Linked DNA regions of Homo sapiens: region 1 is linked to region 2. Evidence: promoter capture Hi-C in human tissues and cell types (Jung and others, 2019). All regions are on one chromosome and are shown on one strand. Each heading gives the region's core, a stretch centred on a gene start or on the middle of the fragment in contact. The rest is flanking DNA. Distances are from core to core; before and after follow the strand shown.

Region 1 (6,848 bases), core at 3,503-6,002, 77 kb after region 2:
CCACCAATTCTTCATGACTCAGATGAGGCATATAATAAGTTTTAAATTGATTAGAGGTCAATTTGCTACTTGCGTTGGTCACTAAAATTACTAATCTTAGTCTCGGTTGGTGTATTTGAAAAGTCTTTATGAAAAAATGTTATTTGTGCTTGAACTTTCAGAATTAGTTAAAATTAGACTTGCTAACATAAGGAGAACTATGACAAGCATAGAGAGAAATTTTAATGTGTGTATTAAGAACTTTTATTTCTGCTGTTGCTCAGGGTACATAGAAAATTTTGGAAGGATGTGTAAAGACCAGGTCATAGAAGGGCTTTAGTATGTCTTGAAGGGCTTAAATACACACAGGTGTGTGTGTAAATGTTAAAAAGAAAACAATGCAACAAGACAGGTGTTTATTGGGGCAGTTTGGGGTACTCCATGTAATTTCTAAGGGGTGGCTTTCTGTTGGTAAATTTACAAGTCCAGAATGTGACCTTCCATTCCTGAGCCTTCAGCCTAATTTGTTAGCCTACCTTGTCTCAGGATGTACTCACTGTGCCCAATGCCACAGAAACTGATGTCTGAATTCAGAATGTTTTATTAATGTATGGTACAGATGTAATAGCTAAGTAGATTTGTTTCTATTCAGGGCATTTTCTAGATGCACCATAGGAGAAGTCAAAAGAAGATTTTTGGTGGTCATGAAATCAAATCACAGGGAGTCAGATATATGACACAAACATTTAACAGCATCAACCTGTAATAAGTAAATGCACACATCTCCACAATGGGACTGTCCTACCATTAGAACCCAACAAGTCCTAGATCAAGGCATTTCTCCTCCAGGCAGCGAACAGATGACTCTACTACCAGTGCTCTCTCCTTCTATGCTCTAGGGCTAAGTCACTCACCTCCTTCCTAGTTTTTTTTTTTTCAGTGCTTTCTTACATTCTGTCAAATTATAGACCAGTTTTGCTGGCCCAGAAGCAGGTTCTCTCATTATAATATGTCCTGTTCTTTATCCATTGTGAATTTTCTTTTTAAAAGCAGTCCTATATGTAAGATGTTAGGCACTGGCAAAGTGGATGGGGTCAGTGGCTGGATGGGGAATAGAGCTGGGACACAGGCTAGAGCTGCTCAGCCTGCTATAGCAGCTGTCACAAAGGTGTTGAACTTCCTATATATCAACAACGATGTGGAGGCAGGAATTGGCCACGGCATTTTAAGAAATAGCAAGTAGAGCACTGTGGTCTCAGAATGTAGGTCTGCGTTGAGAAAGAGTATCATGTAAAGTTCAAGGTAGCGTAGGCTTATAAAAAGCCTGAAAATGGAAATAAAATACTTCAATCTAAGCCAGTGATTCACACATTAGTCTAATGGTAGAAGTTTTTTTTCCAATGTCACTCACATGATTTTCTGTGCCTCCTAATGTAGCCCAGATAGAAAAGATGGTGAGTGAATTTCCTTTTAAGTCATCATTATGTGATGGGAAATACACCTATGACATACCTGTACAAAGGTGGTCTACTCCAGGGTCATTGCGTAGAGACCCAAAGAAATTGTGGACATTATCCAGTTGGGGAGCTTAGATGGGAGCTTGGATCTGCCACCTAGTTCAATCCAATTTTTATAATACTAGTTTATATAACATTTTTTGTTCACATTTTTCTAATACTGAATTTGGCATTTAATCAATGAAGAGTACACAGTATACACATATGGCTTTATTACTTTTGGGAAATGCTAGTCCTTATTCCTTGAATTTATTTTTGTAGTGTTTCAACTTTGGTAAAATGCTGTTAAGTCTCATTTGCTATTCATAGCAACAGTGTGTTAGGCAGGTAGTAGTTATCCCCAATTTTGCAAGTAAAGAAACTTAAGCTCATAAAAGAAAAGTGACTTGCTAAAGGAGATACGGCTTTTAAGTGGTAAAATTGGGACTCAAACCTAGGTCATCTGACTTTTACTGTATTCTTATCACTAGGGTAGACTCCATAAACCAAATGTTTAATAAATGTTAGTGACAACATAAACTAAGTTTCAAGGCCCTCATTAAAACTGTTTTATTGGCTGGCCGGGCGCAGTGGCTCACGCCTCTAATCCCAACACTTTGGGAGGCCGAGGCGGGCGGATCACAAGGTCAGGAGATCGAGACCATCCTGGCTAACATGGTGAAGCCCCGTCTCTACTAAAATACAAAAAATTAGCCGGGCGAGGTGGCGGGCACCTGTAGTCCCAGCTACTCGGGAGGCTGAGGCAGGAGAATGGCGTGAATCCGGGAGGCGGAGCTTGCAGGGGAGCCGACATCGCGCCACTGCACTCCAGCCTGGGCGACAGAGCCAGACTCCGTCTCAAAAAAAAAAAAACTATTTTATTGGCTTTTATAAAGCTGGAGTAGGATGTAATATTATGCAGAATAAATTGCCATGGATTTTTTTTTTTTAAGAGCTGAACAGTTGCTTTGGTCTCCTTGGCAACACAGTATTCTCCTTCTGTCCAAGAAATTTAGTACATATAAATGAATATTTGAATTTTTCTTTTTAGAATTCAAATTCATTTTTTTCTTTATACTTCCAAATTTCCTACATTTTCTCCTGTTTTCATCATTTTATTTGCAATTTATTTTTTTTGAAGAAATACATGCTTATGATTTTAAAAAATAGTACAGAAGGGATTATAATGGAAAACAATGATCCTAACTGCCTCTTCTTTTCCTCAGTTTGCTCCTTATAAGTCATTTTAAGTTTCTTTTTAGTTATTTTTGTGGTTACCATGAAAAGACTAAGTAATATACTAGAAGCACTATTTCTTGATGTATTTTAAAGCTTTAGATATTATCTGTCAAATATATCCCTGTGCTATAAAAAATGGGAATTCACTCACTATTCTCTATGTCTCCTAAATTTTGATAGTTATGCTATTAGCATTAGTTATTTCAAAAGTTTAAACAATATAATTAATGCTAGCAAAGTTTGCAGGACAATAAGTGCAACTAACAAACAGGGCTTCCAACTGGCCATTCTATTTAAGAGGAGACTGGCAGAAAACATATTGTATACATGAAAACAGAGAAAACCCATACCAGCTTATATAAGGTACCTAGCGTAGTCAAATACACAGAAACAGAAAACAGAATGTTGGGTACCAGCGGCTAAAAATCTATTGATGTTAATAACTAACTAACGATCAAACTATAAAAAGGAAATAAGCTGCATGAAAAATAAGTAAAGCAATGGATACAGGAAAAAAACTGAGTTAAGTCAGGGAACACAAGAACTTAATGTTTTTTGATTAAATAAGACAATTATTCCATCAAATAAGGAAATATGCTATGAAAAAGGAACAGGAAACAATAATGAGCTCTTGGAAATTAAGAAAAAAACGTTACACCCCACCCCTGCCAAATGCAATAGAAAATATAGACGTTAAAGTTGAGGAAACATAGCAAAAGGAAATAGGAAATATGAGGAAGTTGATGTGGAGTAACTTCCCCAGAAATCCAATGTAAAGAAATCCTAGATGAAAATAGTGTACTGATCCACACTGGGGTTCCAGAAATATATCTTGAAAAAGAATTCAGCATCTATGCCATAAATAGTAAAAAGCTGGAAGATGTTAGTAATATGGTGAAGATGGCGTGTTGTTTCTGGTCAACAACATTAAAAAAAAAAAGAACAGAAAAGAAAAAGCAGTTACCCAAGGAAGGGAGGGAGGGAGGAGGAAAACAGGAAGAAAGTAGGAAGGGAGGGAGGGAAGGAAAGAATGAAGGACCCAAATAAGCAAGGAAAGACAAAGCTGAGTAAGTTAAGTTATGGTCTAAAAATGAAGCCAACTAAAATGGGGCATCATTTTGAACAATTAATTGATGGATCTTAAGGAAAGAAAAACAGATCTCCAGAACTTTTTCATCTTGCTAAACTGAATTTCTGTACCCATTAAATAACTCCCCATTTCTTCGTCCCCTAAGCCTCTAGCACCCACCATTCTGCTTTCTGTTTCTATGAATTTGACTAATCTAGGTACCTCATATAAGTGGCATCATACAATATTTGTCTTTCTATGACTAGCTTATTTCACTTAGCATAATGTCTTCATAGTTCATCCATGTTGAAGACAAGATTTCATTTTGATTATAGAACAAAATGTACATGTTATCAAGTTATTTTGGGTTTGGGCTTATTGCACTTTGTTTCATGCTACTTTTTGTACGTGGAAATTGCATCTACTCTTCAGTACCCACTGATCCCTTCCTCCAGTTCTTTTTACATTGTAGGTTTAGTCCTTTCGTTCCTTTACTATCACTGTAATAAGTTCTCAGGGAGGGGAGACAAGTGTTTAAGTCTTTCATCTTGACCCAAAAATCTTTATACTTTTATTTCTTCAAATTAAAAATGTACTTGAAACTGAAAACAGCTAAGATGTCCTTCAATAGGTGAATGAATAAGCAAACTGTTGCATATCAAATATTATTCAGTGATTAAAACAAATTAGCTGTCAAGCCACAAAAAGAGATGAGCTATCAAGCTGTGAAAAGATGAAGAAACCTTAAATGTAGATTGCTTACTGAAAGAAGATGGTGTGGAAAAACTACACAGTGTAGTAATTTTTCCATAGATATATTTGAAAAGGAGTGATTCATATTTGAAAGCTCTTCCTGTCTCACCTGACAGTTTTCAAAATAGGTAGACTAGCACTTCTGTTTGTTATTTGGGGGACTTCTTTGCCCTGTTTTTTTTTTTTTCTTTCATAAAAGCTGTTTGTTTACTTCCTTCAAGTTTTCTTTTTTTTTTTTTGAGACGGAGTCTCGCTCTGTCGCCCAGGCTGGAGTGCAGTGGCGCAATCTCGGCTCACTGCAAGCTCTGCCTCCCGGGTTCACGCCATTCTCCTGCCTCAGCCTCCCGAGTAGCTGGGACTACAGGCGCCCGTCACCACGCCTGGCTAATTTTTTTTTTTTTTTTTTTTTTGTATTTTTAGTAGGGACGGGGTTTCACCATGTTAGCCAGGATGGTCTCGATATCCTGACCTCGTGATCCGCCCGCCTCGGCCTCACAAAGTGCTGGGATTACAGGCGTGAGCCACCGCACCCGGCCAGTTCCTTCAAGTTTTCTACAAGGCCGTTAGAAACCTATTCGGATATGTCTTTGATCTAAAATTATTTTCCCGGTCGGGCGCAGTGGCTCACGTCTGTAATCCTAGCACTTTGGGAGGCCAAGGCAGGCGGATCACCTGAGGTCAGGAGTTCGAGACCAGCCTGGCCAACATGGTGAAACCCCCATCTCTGTTAAAAATACAAAAAATTAGCTGGGCGTGATGGCACTTGCCTGTAATCCCAGCTACCCAGGAGACAGGCAGGAGAATCACTGGAACCCGGGAGGCGGAGGCTGCAGTGAGCCAAGATCGCGCCACTGCACTCCAGCCTGGGTGACAGAGCGAGACTCCATCTCAAAAAAAATAAATTTTTAAAAAAGTATTTTTCCTGTCTCTTCCTCTCCTCTTATTTAAAAAAATCAAAGAATATGGATAATCTAATAAAAAGGAATTTATCATCATTTGATTCTTCCAGGTTTTACTTGTGAGATACATTGAATTAACAAAAGAATATACATCTTATTATATTTCATTAGCTCAGGGTTTTTGTTTTGTTTTGTTTTGTAGAGAAACAGGGTCTCACCCTGTCACCTAGGCTAGAGTGCAGTGTGATCATAGCTCACTGCAGCCTCCTGGGCTCAAGTGATCCTCCCACCTCAGTTTCCGGAGTGGCTGGGACTACAGGCACAAGCCATCACACCTGGTTACATTAGCTTAGATTTCAATGATAATCCCTGGATAATCTAAATCAGAATTCTTTCATCCTTCCTTTTGGAGAGACAGCACAATTGGCTTGTCTCATGGAGAAACCTGTTTTTACCTAATTTATGTCTGTTTGGCTTTTTAGAAATATTTTCCCTCAAAATAAAAGGTTGATTAGTAATTTAGTGCAGATTTTACTGAAGGAGTATTGTTTTCATTAGTCAACTGTGGTCTGCATTACTACTAATTAGTACTGAGGCTGCTGCCCTCTAGTATCGGGAGTTAATGGAGAAAATGTTCTATGCTGGTGAAGAATAGACAGGAAGGCAGTGAGATAGTGTCACCAATCCTCATGAGATCTTTTACACCAAGTCATTTAATGAGGAGTGTATCTTACCAAACAAAACAATGGAAATGGTCATATTTAATGCCTTAAAGAGTATGAAGACTATAATATGGTAAATGAAAAATACCATATCTCTCTGATTCAAAGACATTTTAATGTCTACCTTGTTAGAAAACCTCTTTAACGTAAGTAATGGTTTTATGTTGTGTTTCTGCTTCAGAATTTTTTCACGTCATTTTCTCTCTGAAATATTTCATTATTTATATAGGTAAAAATGAGGGAAAAGCCTAAGTGTCCATGAATAAATAAATGGTGACATAAACTGGAACACTCTGGAGTGAAAAGAATAGCATGGCTCTATATGTATTAAAAGGACCTCCAAGATATATAGATATAAAGAGAGATATAGATACATAGGTGTATAGGTTTATATTTTTTTTAATTTTATTTTATCATATTAAGAACACTTAGCATGAGATTTACCCTCTTAACAGATTTTCCAGTATTCAATATAGTATGGTTAACTGTAGGTACAGTGCTGCACAGCATATCTCTATAATGAATTCATCTGGCTTAACTGCAACTTTATGCCTCTTGCTTAGCAACTCTCCATTCCTCCTTCCCTTCCAGCATCTGGCAACCATCATTCCACTCTTTAATTCTATGAATTTGACTATTTTAGATACCTCATATAAGTGAAATCATGCAGTATTTGGCCCTCTGTGCAAGA
Region 2 (6,604 bases), core at 3,575-6,074:
GAGGGAACGAGCTGATTTCTGGGCTGTAGCATTTCAGATTTGGGGAATGCAAGGGATTAAGGACCAAACTGACAAGCCAGGAGGAGATAAGACCCTGAAGGCACAGACACGGGCTCCTCATGAATAATAGAATAAAGTAACTTGATGTGACTGTGAAACTTCCTCTGTGAGTCACACTGCATTTCCCCCTGGTGACCCAGTCTTCTGAAACTGTTGACAGGTACCATCCACACTCACCCTACCTCTCAACATTTTCCCCCCACTTCCTAGACCTTAAGTTAGGAACATCAAATATATCAGAGTCATCTGGTTAGGCGTTACTGAAAAATCAAGATGTAACTCAAGGGATACCAAGGTGGAAAAGAAACAACTGGTCTCTGTTCTCATAGCGCTTCCAGTCCAATGGGAAAGGCAGGCCCCAAACAGATAAACAGAAGATTGGGTTGAGTTCTATGAAGAAAACAAACAGGGAACTGGATGGATGATGGTGCCATTGACTGAGACATAGGAAAGTGAAAGGGAAAGAAGTCAAGAGTCCCAGTCCCCACATTATCCAAACAGAGACATCAGGGAGGTTGTTGGATATGGGAGTTCGATGCTCAGAGGAAAGGTTTGGCCCAGAGGTTGAAAAAGTCTCCTACTGACCTTTGAGGCTCTCTCAGGTTCTATCTCTTCTTGGAAGCTTTCTCTGATAACATAATTCCTAGGGATCTTCCCTCTCATGACCATTATTCACTCACTCATATATTCAACAAATTTTTACTAAGATCTCCTCTGTGCTAGGCTTGGTGCTGGGAATGGCTTAGTGCCCTCAATGAATTTATGTTCTAGGTGTGGAGTCAACCAATAGAGGAGACAATTGTAACACAGAATGGTAAGTGCTGTGTGAGAGGAAAGCCCGAGGGGCTGTAGGAGCAGAGAAAGTGGGCTTCTGTGCCAGCCAGGTCCTTCAGGAAGAAGATGGCCATCTCATATGGATAATTCAAGAAGGCTCTATTCAGAGATGGGCAGGGAGTGGGGAAACCACAGGGGTTGTGAGGTATCCTGGAGCTGAAAGCACCTGGGCATCACTACCACCCCTAGGACTGAAGAGGAAAGAGAAGGAGGTGGTTACAGGAATCCAGACTCAGGGAGAGCTCTAAGATAGGGCTGAGGGCAGCGGGAGCTGTGGGCCTCAGTTGAAGATGCAGCAAGAACAACAACAAAAGACTTTTTTTTTTAAGTAAGTGAAATATATCAGAATCATCTGTTAAGGTGTTACTGAAAAACAAGGCAGGGGATGGAGGTAGGGAGGCAGGAGAAGGGAGGAATTAGCATTTATAGATTGGATGCTCAGGGAAGGCCTCACCAAGAAGGTAACATTTAAGCCAAGACTTGTTTGTGGCATGTCTCTAGGTGAGTCTTCCCCTCATCCCTTCAATCAGCTCATCCTACCCTCAAATTCCATCCACCCCACTCCCCCATCTTCCCAGGGTCAGGGCCATGTCTCCAATGTCTTTGGATTAGGGAGCTCCTTGAAGTCCCTGTCAGACTAGAGATCCCCAGAGACAGGAACTCTGTTTCCTCCTGCTCTTTCTCATCCAGTGACAATAGAAGCTGCCATTTATTAAGCCTATGCCTCATGCTAGGCCCGGCTCCAGGCATATTAAACGCATCACTTCATCTAAGCCTGCTGGCAAGGCTCCAGGGCACAGGTGGGGAACATGAGGCAGCTCAGCCCCCTTTCCAATGGCCAGCTGCCTTCCCTGACATGGTTGCTGCCTTATCCTCACCCCAGAGAAGGGGGAGTAGAGGATAGACCTTAAATTCTTTTTTTTTTTTTCTTTGAGACAGAGTCTTGCTCTGTCACCCAGGCTGGAGTGCAGTGGCGCAATCTCAGCTCACTGCAACCTCTGCCTCCCAGGTTCAGGCGATTCTTCTGCCTCAGCTTCCCAAGTAGCTGGGATTACAGGTGCATGCCACCACACCCAGCTAATTTTTTTTTTTTAATCTTTAGTAGAGACGGAGTTTCACCATATTGAGCAAGCTGGTCTTGAACTCCTGACGTCGTGATCCGCCACCTCCCAAAGTGCTGGGATTACAGACGTGAGTCACCACGCCCAGCAAATTTTTTTTTTCTTGAGATAGGGTCTCACTTTGTTGTCTAGGCTGTAGTGAGTGCAGTGGCACAATCTTGGCTCACTGCAGCCTCAACCTCCTGGGCTCAAGCAATCCTCCCACCTCAGCCTCTCAAGTAGCTGGTACTACAGGCACATAGCATCATGCCCAACTAATTTTTTTATTTTTTGTAGAAATGAAGTCCCACTATGTTATCCAGGTTGGTCTTGAACTCCTGAGCTCAAGTGATCCACCCACCTCAGCCTCCCAAAGTGTTGGGATTACAGGCATGAGCCACTGCTCCTGGCCGACCTTAAATTCTTGAAAGACTGTAAAAGGGAACACAGATCAGACTTCTATTTCATGTCTCCAATGGGTGCAAGGACCAAAGGGTAGAAGTCAACAGGAAGCAGTTTTTGTTAAAATGTGAGAACATCCTAACAATCAGAGCTGTCTGGCTGCCTTGCAGGCATTGAGCTCCCTAGAGGTGTGCAAGAGAAGCTGGATAGCCTCATTTCAAAAATGAAATAGAGGCAGAGTGTGGTGGCTCACACCTGTAATCCCAACACTTCGGGAGGCCAAGGCGGGCAGATTACTTGAGGTCAAGTGTTCGAGACCAGCCTGGCTAACATGGCAAAACCCCGTCTCTACTAAAAATACAAAAATTAGCTGGGTGTGGTGGTACACCTGTAATTCCAGCTACTCAGGAGGCTGAGGCACAAGAATTGTTTGAACCTGGGAGGCAGAGTTTGCAGTAAGCTGAGATCACACCACTGCACTCCAGCCTGGGTGATATGTTTCCAAAAATAAAGAAATGGGAGAATCTGTTAGGCTCATGAGGGATTTGACTAGGAAACTCTTGAGAGTTCTTCCAATTTACATTCCAGAACCCTAAGATGATATGATTCTAAGACTTTGGTTCTAAGATTTTATTAGAACAAAAGACAATCCCTATCTTCAAAGAACTCACAACCTAGCAGATGGGGTGGACAAATGGTTACTTTCTATAACTGTCATAGACAGTCCTACAGAGTAAATGCAAGGCCGTGGGCAGGATCTGAGAAAGAACCCTGACCAAGCCAGGACTGCTTCCTCATGGCTAGTCTCAAGAACCATTTGCATCAGAGTCATTTGGAAATCTTGTTTGAAAATGCTGATTTCTAGGCTCTACTCCAGATTTCCTGAATTAGAACCTCTGGAGTGGAGCCCAAAAGTCTACTTAGTAAAACAAGCTCCCCAGGGGATTCTTAGGCAGATTGAAAACTGAGGTTGCAGGATGGGCACAGTGGTTCATGCCTGTAATCCCAGAACTTTGGGAGGTGGAGGTGTGCAGGTCACTTGAGCCCAGGAGTTCGAGATCAGCCTGGGCAACATGGAGTAACCCAATTTCTATAAAATACAAAAATTAGCCAGACATAGTGGTGTGTCCCAGTTACTCAGGAGGTTAAGGGAGGAGGATCACCTGAGCCCAGGAGTTCAAGGCTGCTGTGAGCCATAATCACTCCACTGCACTCCAGCCTGGGTGACACAGTGAGATCCTGTCTAAAGGAAGGAAGGAAGGAAGGAAGGAAGGAAGGAAGGAAGAAAGAAAGGAAGGAAGGAAGGAAACTGAGATTGCATGCTTAGGTGATTAGGATGACTTTTCTGAGAGGTGATCTCCAGACTGAGAAAAAGGAATAGTAGGGTCAAAACAAGGTGGGTACAATATACCCACCTTGTATATTGTATACAATATACAATATACCCACCTTGTAGTAGGTCTTTTTAAAACGATAGCACTTCTTAGATATATTCTGGGATTCTGTAATTGAGAGTATGTGCTTCAGATATCCTGGAGCAGACCTTTGCAAGGGAGTGAAAGAGCTGGCCTGAGGCTGTTATTAATTATTCTGAGGCAGTGAGCTGGTAAAAGGGCACCCCACAGGGTCCCCCGGAGAAATTCTCTGCAACTGTCCCTTCCTCTGCCACTAGCCTCCTGGCTCTTATTCCTCAGCTGCCCCGGCTGCCCCAGTTCTCTGAAGCCTGCAATGTCACCAGCAAGGAAACAACAGTTTGAGTGAGGGCATGGTGGTGGGAAAATAAACTGTTCTGGGACAGAGATGAGTAAGGTGCGGCTGAACACAAGTTGGTCAGGCACTGTCACGAACTTTTGAGGCTTGGTGGAGGAAACATTTGCTGGTGCTACTCAGAGACAGAGGGGTGTGTAGTGGATTTTGGGTCTGGGCTCTGCTACCTGGGCAAATCCCTTCTCCAACTGGGCCTCTGCGTCCTGTGTGGAAAAGAGTTTGTGTAAGAATCATATTATTTTGCTGTTGACCCTTTGGTTTTAATACTTTGGACTCAAAGGTCTCATCTGACCTCAACCATAAGCCTGTGAAGAATGCATGGAGGAACTGTACCAACTTTACAGCCAGGCCAAGGCCCAGTGAGGGGCAGCGACTCGCCCACCACCACACAGCCACACTGGAGCAAAACCGACTCCTGGAGATCGGCCTCATGCTGGGCTTGCTGAGGCCCAGCGGAGCGAGAGGCTTTCGGTCTCTGGTCCAGGAAGCAGGCGCTGCAGGGGACGGAAGGGTCGGAGCCCACAGCCGGGGGAGGCCAAGGAGCTGGGCGGAGGCACTCCAGGCCAGCCCGGGGAGAAGTGGGTGTGCTGGGGCCCGGGCGGGGCAGGGGGAGGGGACGCCCGGGGGAGGGAAAAGGGAGCCGAGCGCGGGTGGGAGCCCAGAGCCAGAGAGCGCGCTGGGCGGTGCTGGGCACCCGCGGAGTGGAACGGGGCTGGTGGAATGCACAGGGTCGCAGCGCTTGGGCCACCCTCGGTCAGAGGGCGCCGTGTCCAGCGAGCAAACGGGCGCCCCGGAGCCTTGCTGAGAGGCAGGTAAGGCACCCACCCAGCTGGGAAGGCTGAGCTGCGGCCTGGGGTGGAAATGAGGGGTCTTCCCGCCTCCCTTCCAAGGGCCACGGCGCGCTCTCCGTGAGACTGTGGAACCGAGGGGGAGTGGGGGAGGGGTGGGCGCTGCAAATACCAAGCTAGTCCTCCCGGATCCTCCCCGATCCTCCCGAGCGCAGTGATCGTGGAGCAGCATGTGGGAGTAGGGAGCTGGGCTCTGCGCGCCCCGTCTGGAAACCGTGGGGACTTGCGCCGTTATTCCCAGCCCTCAAGACGGCCACAAGAAAAGTTCCTCCACACCCACAGACGTGCAAGCGAACACTTGCAGCTGGCAGCCAGTGCACACGCAGAAACGACATTTCAGGACCCAGCACAGTCTCATTTGGCTGGAGCCACCGGCTCTGCGGAGCTGACTTGCCCATTCCCTCTACACCTCACTGTGTCCTTCACCCTGTCTGACCTAGTCCCGGGAAACCTGGTGACTCCCAAAAGCATCTTCTGCTGCCAGTAACATAGGTCGAGGCTGGGAGTCGGGAGACTTGAGTTCTAGTTTACAGGCTGTGTAAACCCGGGCAGTCATCCCTCAGCTCTGCGCCTTGTGCTCGCTTTTCCTGGGCCACCATTTGTAAAACGGGCCTCCTGCTCCTGTTGCCTGCATACCCCATGGGACAGAAGGGGAAAGGGGGATTGGACCTCAGAGTCTCTTATCTCGAAAATAAATGAGTTTAGTTCTTGCGTGAAAGCCCACCAGAGTATCCCTCCTAAAATCCTCTCCACTAATTTGCATATAGGGAAACTGATGCCCCAGGGGAGATGATTTACCTAAGGTTACAACAGAGACCAAACAGAATTAGAACCCAAGTTTCCTCAGTCCTAGCCCAGGGCTCTCTCCACTTCACCTACAAAGGCATGTTGTAAACGTGTGAGCTCCTCCTTATTTCCTTGCATCCGTCCACTTTGTCTGTTCCTGATGGAGGAAGACCCATGCTGGGGGCCTAGAAGCTGCTTTCAGATTTTCTTGACTCCTTGAGATGATAACCATCACCTTCTCCATCCCTCACTCAGTCTATACGTCTCAAAGCACATCCATAAACTTAATGTGCGAGTGCTCAAAATACCTTCTAAGAGGGAAGCAAGACAAGAAACTCCATCTTACTGATGAGGAAAATGAGGCCTAGAGGGATATAGACTTAGAGTGATAAAGTTACTTAACCAAAACGCACGGCTAGACGTGTTGGCCTAGTAGGGGCAGGAACCCAGGTCTCCTGATTCCCCCTCTGATGTGTTCTCCACCAGCTACAGGACTACAGAATGGTACCCCTCAATGATAAGGGACTGCGGGAATGATCATAGAGGGTAGGAAACAGGAAGGCTTCTGGAGAAGGTGAGGTTCCTGGGAATCAAGAAGAATAATAAGAACCTCCTGGCTGCTTCTGAGGCTAGGAGACCTGGAGTGGGAAAGGAGACACAGAGATGGTTGTTCTTGGTAATATGGGGGGAAAGGAAAGATGTGGAGACAGAAAAGGAAAACAGTGTGACCAGCCTGCCTGATAATTATCTTGTATGTTTGCAATTTCTAAAACATTCCCATCTCTTGTCTCCTCTAGTTCTCATGTG

Evidence for each region. Contacts are between HindIII fragments. The study calls those that stand out against the background at their distance.
Region 1: a contact is called between a fragment that was not itself captured here and the fragment with the promoter of KCNE3 in region 2, in 2 of the 25 tissues and cell types used here (lymphoblastoid cells and spleen).

The regions. Positions count from the first base shown.
Region 1 is chr11:74,388,046-74,394,893 of GRCh38, reverse strand. All of the region lies in intron 1 of PGM2L1 (phosphoglucomutase 2 like 1), which reads left to right. Among named protein-coding and RNA genes, the nearest start is that of PGM2L1, 7.0 kb to the left of the region's middle. The HindIII fragment of the contact is 9,021 bases long and covers 242-6,848 here.
Region 2 is chr11:74,465,769-74,472,372 of GRCh38, reverse strand. KCNE3 (potassium voltage-gated channel subfamily E regulatory subunit 3) reads left to right here and starts at 4,824. Exons shown (of 3, transcript NM_005472.5): 1 at 4,824-4,975. The HindIII fragment of the contact is 14,037 bases long and covers 1-6,604 here.